Regions from separate parts of the Homo sapiens genome. Here region 2 is linked to region 1. The links are contacts of gene promoters, found by promoter capture Hi-C in blood cells and fetal thymus (Javierre and others, 2016). All regions are on one chromosome and are shown on one strand. The core of a region is centred on a gene start or on the middle of the fragment in contact, and the rest is flanking DNA. Distances in the headings are between cores, read along the strand shown. Region 1 holds the start of WNT7A (Wnt family member 7A). Region 2 overlaps LINC00620 (long intergenic non-protein coding RNA 620).

The links. Contacts are between HindIII fragments. The CHiCAGO score rates a contact against its expected background, and 5 or more counts as called.
Region 2: a fragment that was not itself captured here is called in contact with the fragment with the promoter of WNT7A in region 1 in 2 of 17 cell types (megakaryocytes and endothelial precursors); the score reaches 5.8 in megakaryocytes.

The regions. Positions count from the first base shown.
Region 1 is chr3:13,878,371-13,881,521 of GRCh38, forward strand. It overlaps WNT7A (Wnt family member 7A), which reads right to left and starts at 1,701. Exons shown (of 4, transcript NM_004625.4): 1 at 1,376-1,701. The coding sequence starts at 1,446. RefSeq lists enhancers at 174-675, 1,178-1,679. The HindIII fragment of the contact is 8,507 bases long and covers 1-3,151 here.
Region 2 is chr3:13,679,560-13,682,547 of GRCh38, forward strand. The region is part of intron 1 of LINC00620 (long intergenic non-protein coding RNA 620); the gene reads left to right. Among named protein-coding and RNA genes, the nearest start is that of LINC00620, 30 kb to the left of the region's middle. RefSeq lists an enhancer at 2,013-2,558. The HindIII fragment of the contact is 630 bases long and covers 1,047-1,676 here.

The DNA of each region.
Region 1 (3,151 bases), core at 451-2,950:
ATGTGCGCGGGGCGGCGGGGCGCGGGCCAAGATGAAGATTAAAGCAGGGGAAAAAAAGGAAAGCCACCCAGACGCGGGCGAATCAATAACACTTAAAACACACCGGCAGGCTGGCGGTACTGGCGCGAGCCCCGCAGCCGCCTCTCCGCCGCTGGTCGGGCTGGCGGCCCCTGGTCGGCTCTGCACGCACCTGCTAGCGGCCGCGGCCGGACAACTTGCGAAATCCCCGCTCCAGAGACGTGGACTGGGGAAGTGACGGGGTAGGGGGGTAGTAGTGACAAAACACAAAGGGTCTGCCACGCACATCCCCTCGCCGCAGCCCCTGCGGTCCACCCCTCCTCAAAAGGGATGGTAATGGGTTCACTGCTGGGGGCTGGAGGGGCAGGGTGTGTGAGACCTACCAAGCGGGCCCTTCAGCGCCAGAACCTCTATCCATGCCCAGATCCCCCCGCCCCCACACCGCTCCGAGCCTCACACGCGTTGTCTTAAGTACAAAGGGTGACCGGCTTTGCACAAGCAGCTCCAGGACGCGTCCCGAGCTGCCCCCTCCCACCTTCCAGCCAGAGCGCCCCCGAGCCCCACCTCCACAGAAACGCTAGGTGAAGCCGGAGGGCTGCTCGCGCGCCCGGCCGCCTCTGCTGCCCAGTTCCAGGGGGCGGGGTGTCCCGCCTCTCTCTAGCGCTTGTCTCCCTCTGTGTCTCAGACCGCCTCTCGTCCCACCTTTGTGTGTGTTTGTTGGGGGTGGGACGTGCTGTCCCCTTGGCCCGGGAAGGGGCTCTGGGAGTCTAAGGGCCCCTGGAAATTGGGTGGTGCCAAGGCTCCGAGCGGCGGTTTATGTTTTTGCCAGCGAATGTCCTTCCTCCTGGGTACCTGTTCCCTGTTTGCACGGACCGGCCCCGCCAGCCACCTGGGGACTGCCCAGTCTCTAGGAACGGCTGTGCCGCGCCTCCTGAGAGAGTTCGTCTCGGGCTCCGGGGACTGAGCTCCCCGAGATTGGCTGTGGTCCTGGCTTGATGTTCCTGCTAGACCTGCTGTCCCTATGCCCGGGTCCGAAGGGTCCCCGGGATGGGCTGAACCTTTGCAGCAGCTAGCCCTCCCCCAGAGTCCCTCAGGCTGGAGCGTCCCTACCGGCTGTCTCTGGTCCTGGGGGATTCCAGACTCAGACGTCCTCAGGATGGCCAGTCCCCCTGCCTATATCTCCTGGGGTGTCCTGCGGGGGGCCTTTGTGCGTCCACCGCTCCCACACCGCACCCACCCGGCCTCTCAGAGAAGCTGTGGAAGTTGGCCGGCAGAGGCTCGCAGGCGGCACACCTCCCTCCCCGGGCCGTGCCAACTTTGTCGAAACACGCGCGGAAAGGGCGCAGGCAGCCCTTACCCGATCCGGAGGTAGACCATGCCCAGGCTGAGAAAGAGGTGGCCCAGGCAGCGCCGCGCTTTCCGGTTCATAGTCCCGATTGGCCGCCGGGGCCGCGGGCCGGGCTGTGCTGATCCCGCGGGCCGGCCCCGGCGGGGCAATCAACATAGCCCGCCCGGGAGGCGCGAGCCGAGGCGTCCCCGGGGCCGTCTGTCGGTGCGCCCGTCCGCGCGCTCCGCGCCTGAGCCTCGCCAGGAGCACGGGAGCCACGGAGCGGGAGGAGGGAGGGAGGAGCGAGCGCGGCGTGGGGCGACGCCGGGCTGCGCGCGAGCGACCGGTGCAAGTGTGCGAGACGCGGGGAGTGCGGGGGCGCTGCTGCCTCCAGCCCCCGCCCCTCCCTCCTTTCCCCCGTCCCTCCCCCGCCCCCTCCCCCGCCCGCCTCCCCGGAGCGCCCGCCCAGCGCCCCTGCGCCCGCGGGACAGGGCCGCCTGCACAAGGCGCGCGCTCGCGCCTTTCCATGCGCGCTCCCGGGGGCCCCCTCCCTGCTCCGGGGTGCAGGTGGCAGGCTGGGGAGCACAGCCCGGTTGGAGGCGGTAGGAGCCCGCTCGCCCCCCACCCGTCACTAACTTGCAGATTGCAGGGCGAGTGGGCGTCCAGAGGCTGCCCTCGGGTGGAGTGGACCAGACTCGGCCGAGAGGCCTAGTGCCTTGGTCTGCTGCCCTGCTCCCTCCAGCCCGGAACAGGGAGCTGGGGCTGACAGGGCACACCCCAGTTCCCCAACCCCAGCTTCAGGGGAGGGCGCCCCCTTTCGCGGAGCGACGGGCTGACTGGCTCAGTGTATTTCTTCCCTACTCCCACCTATTCGAGAGTGGCGGCAGGGGGTGCCCAGGTTGGGCAGCCTCCTCTGGGATCCTGCTGTTAGCCGACAGACTGAGTCGGGCTGAGGCCCAGTTGCCCCGCGCGGAACAGCAGTGGGGCGCCTGAGCCGCGGGAGCGTGAGGGGCGCAGCTGGCCGCTCAGAGCGCGCTCGCGGCGTCACCAGGCGGACGCGGCGGGTGGTGCACCTCGGCCTCGCTCCCGGGAACAGAATGCTTTGAGTGCCCTGGCCGACCCGAGGGGGCTAACACCCTTCTTTGGTGTACACCTCATCCAGTGAGCTAGGGGGAGTCTAACCGTCCCTGGAAATTGGGTGGTGCCAAGACTCCGAGCGGCAGTTTATGTTTTTGCCAGCGAATGTCCATCCTCCGGGTACCTGTTCCCTGTTTGCACGGACCGGTCCCGCCTGCCACCTGGGGGTTGCCCAGTCTCTAGGAGCGGCTGCGCCTGCGCCTCCGGAGAGTGTTCCTCTCGGGCTCCAGGGACTGAGCTCCCTGGGAGTGGCTGTGGTCCTGGCTTGGTGTTCCTGCTGGACCTGCTGTCCCTATGCCCAGGTCTGGCAAATCTGAACTCAGGTTTCAGCTGAAGACACTGAGGCTCAAGGAGGTGAAGGTGTTTGCCCAGAGTCACCAGCTAGCGAGTGGCACAACCATATGGGAAACAAAGTATGCCCAACTGTAGTAACCTCCTGCACCCAGTCCTGACTATCCTTCAAGATTGCCTTTCTAAATTACACACACACACACACACACACACACCCGAAAGCCACCATTCAGGTATTCATTCATATTCCATATTCTGTGCCAACCACGATAGTGGGCACCGTGGACACAAGGAAGAAGAAAGGCAACAGTCTTTCTTCTTGGGGCCAGGAAGGAGACAGATGATAAGTGAACAAGAACAGAGTTGCAGATAGTAGAC
Region 2 (2,988 bases), core at 112-2,611, 200 kb before region 1:
CAGAAAGCAGGGAGCTGGAGCCTTGGACTTCCATGGTGGGAGGGGAGTACCTCTTTCTGCCAAGAGGACCCCTAGAATGGCAAAGGGGAGATTCTGAGAGACATCTGGGGGCTTGAAGAGAGAGATTGGATGCTGCCAGCTAAAAATCACAGCCTTTCCCTTACCTAGATCAAATCCCCCTTTACTCTTCATATGCTCCTCCCTCAGGGCAACTCGGGGGGTCTCCTCCTCTCTGAAGCCCTCTGGGATTTGCATTCTGATTCAGTACCTCCCTCTCTGGGGCTTTTCCAGAGCTTCTTTCCTTCGATTCCTCTCTTAGGGTTTCAAGAAACTTTAGCTGTGCAGCACACATGAAGTCTATTGTAAACAGAGTGTGGAAGAATGTAAGGGCTGAAAGACGATCTGGAGAGAAAGGACAGGTGGATGGAAGGAAGGATAGAAGCAGGCGGGCACCTCCATGAGGCTGAAGAGGCTGTGGCTTCACCCACCTGTATGCGCCCCCCACAGCTGCAGCACCCAGCAGGCCCTCAGTGAATTTTTTTGACTGGCTGGCTATGGAATTCCTTAGGGAAGATGGTGATAACGACAGTTCCCTGGTTTTCCTCCACGTTGACAATGACTGTCAATCAACTTTGTGTCTTTGGACACTTTCCCTGGAGATTGCAGGTCTTGGCTGCAAGGGGCCCCCTCTCCCCAGCAGCTTCCTTCTCTACACACTGCATCTGTCTCCCTCCTCTCACTTTCAGGTGTACTCAGGTCTTCGCTCTGTCCACCCAGTCTTCCCGCTGCCACCCTCGCTGCTCAGGTTGCTTCCCTAGGAGCAGAGCCTGAGACAGGGGTTGGGTGCCTGTGGTTACTGATGGAGAGAAGCAGGTGAGGCGGAGGATGACACCAAGCAAGCATGAGGGTGCAGGAGAAGTCTAGACTCAGCCTGACCTCACGAGGGGTGCTGGGGGGTAAATGGCACCGCGGAGCTGAAGTCCAGTCCTACAGGATATTGTAACAGCTGCAGGCAGCCCTGGGGGTGCGAGTGGGATGATACATAAAGCTTCGTGGTATTTCCAGTGCTTTTGGTGCTTCTCCAGTTAAGCGTGGCTGTGAGTCAATGGTGGAGACCTTGGCAATGGCTGAGGGATGGGTGTACCTCCTGACAAGGGGGATCTGGGCTTGGCACCAACACCACCTGCTGCCTTCACCAGCCCGGCCACTCCCATACTCCTTGGGGACCTGGGCTAGACTTCTGTCCTAGTGCTGTGCATAGCTGGGCCACTAAGTTTCGTGGAGACCCCAATTTGTTTTCAATAGAAAGAGAGCCTTAGATGAGGGGAGAAGCCATTGATGTGAGTCCATTGTGCACCTGGGGCCCACAACCCTGCAGGTCCATGGTCAACGGCTCTTGGCAGTGGAGTCCCTGCTTCCAGAACACGGGCTCTCCAGCTCCCCATGACCCACACTAGCCCATTCCCTTCATTTATGGCAACTGTTGGGCCCCTGTGGACCTCTGAGTTTTCAGCTTCCTCTGGGAGTCTTTGATCTCTAAAGACCCTTGGGCTCAGACATTGTGTTTCTGTGCTTCAAGTGACGATCTCTTTACTGAGCACCTACTGTGCGTGGCACTGCAGCCTGCTGCTTTATGTCCAAAGGTGGCAAGTGACTCTCTGCCTTTGCCTGCACAAAGCTTCCACTTGCTGGGAGCAGGTGGCAGTAACAGAGGTACACAGATTTGGGAAGTTACGTCAAGGAACTATTTATAGAATCTTCCACACCCTGGAGACCCTTGGAGCACAGACCTCTGTCCTGAACCCCAGGCTTCTGTATCCAGTGGCTTCCTTGCATCTTCTTTGGGATGTGCCATGAACACCCCAGACCCAGCACACCCAGGCTGAGCTCAGGAGGGAGGCTGGGGGAACTTGGCTGCGTGGGGTCCACTCCTGCCACAGTGGGCTGTGTGTTTCTGGGCTGCTGGCTCCTCCCCTGACCCCAGGCCTTGTGGAGACTGTGGCCAGATAGTACCCCCAACTCCTGGCCTGTGGTGGCTTAGTGGGGATATGGAAACTGACCCAGGCGAGGCCAGAGAGGAGCCCTCCTAGGAAGGGGAGTGTGTGAGTGACTCGCAGAAGGCCTGGGAGCGGGTGCAGGACCACAGTGGGAAACAGAGGCCCACTTGAACTGGAAGGGCATGGGCTGGGGTGGGGAGGGGAGATATTCAATCAGGGGACTATTTCCAGAGAAAAGGGCACAGTGTCTAGAGCCCATTGTGCAGGACGTCAGGACTCAGGGCTGGTGGCCACAAGGGTACTCCTCCTGGGCCTGAGGAGCCAGGAGAGAGGAAGACAGGAACAGAGAAGAGGGCTGCGAGACGGATGCTCTAGCCAGGGGTTCTCTTCCTCTTCCAGGGACTCTACGCGGAAAATATCTTTCCCTGCTCTGAGCTTTGTGGCATTTCTTAATTCCTCTTTCAGGCCCGTGTCTGTGTGTGTATGTGCATGTATGTGTGTGTGCATGCGCACGTGTGTGCACGCATGTGTGTGTGAGTGTGCATGTGTGTGCATGCATGTGTATGTGCGTGTGCGTGTGCGTGTGTGTGTGCACGCGCCTGGGTGTGCACATGTACACATCGGTGGACTGCCACATGCACGTGTCTACAGGAATGTGTCATGGAGCCGCTGTGTGGTCCGGGCAGGAGGTGGTGGTGGCTTGGCCCGATGGTTGCGGTGGAGACCAAAAGCTGGGGATGGGTCCCTGAGAGATGGAGAAGAACCTAGGGATTTGGCGGTGGGTTGGATGTGGGGCCAGAGAGTGGCTGGTCAGGACAGCGCCCAGGCATCTGTCTCGGGGCCCTGGCTGACTTGCAGCTGAGCAGGTGAGGGTGTAGAGGGAGCAGGGCGTCCCCCGGCTGTCCCCTGGGCCTGCCCCACAGGGAGAAGGGTGGCCCTGGACCCAGACTACAGCAGAAAGGCACCGGGCCTTCATGGCAGCCTGGAAGGA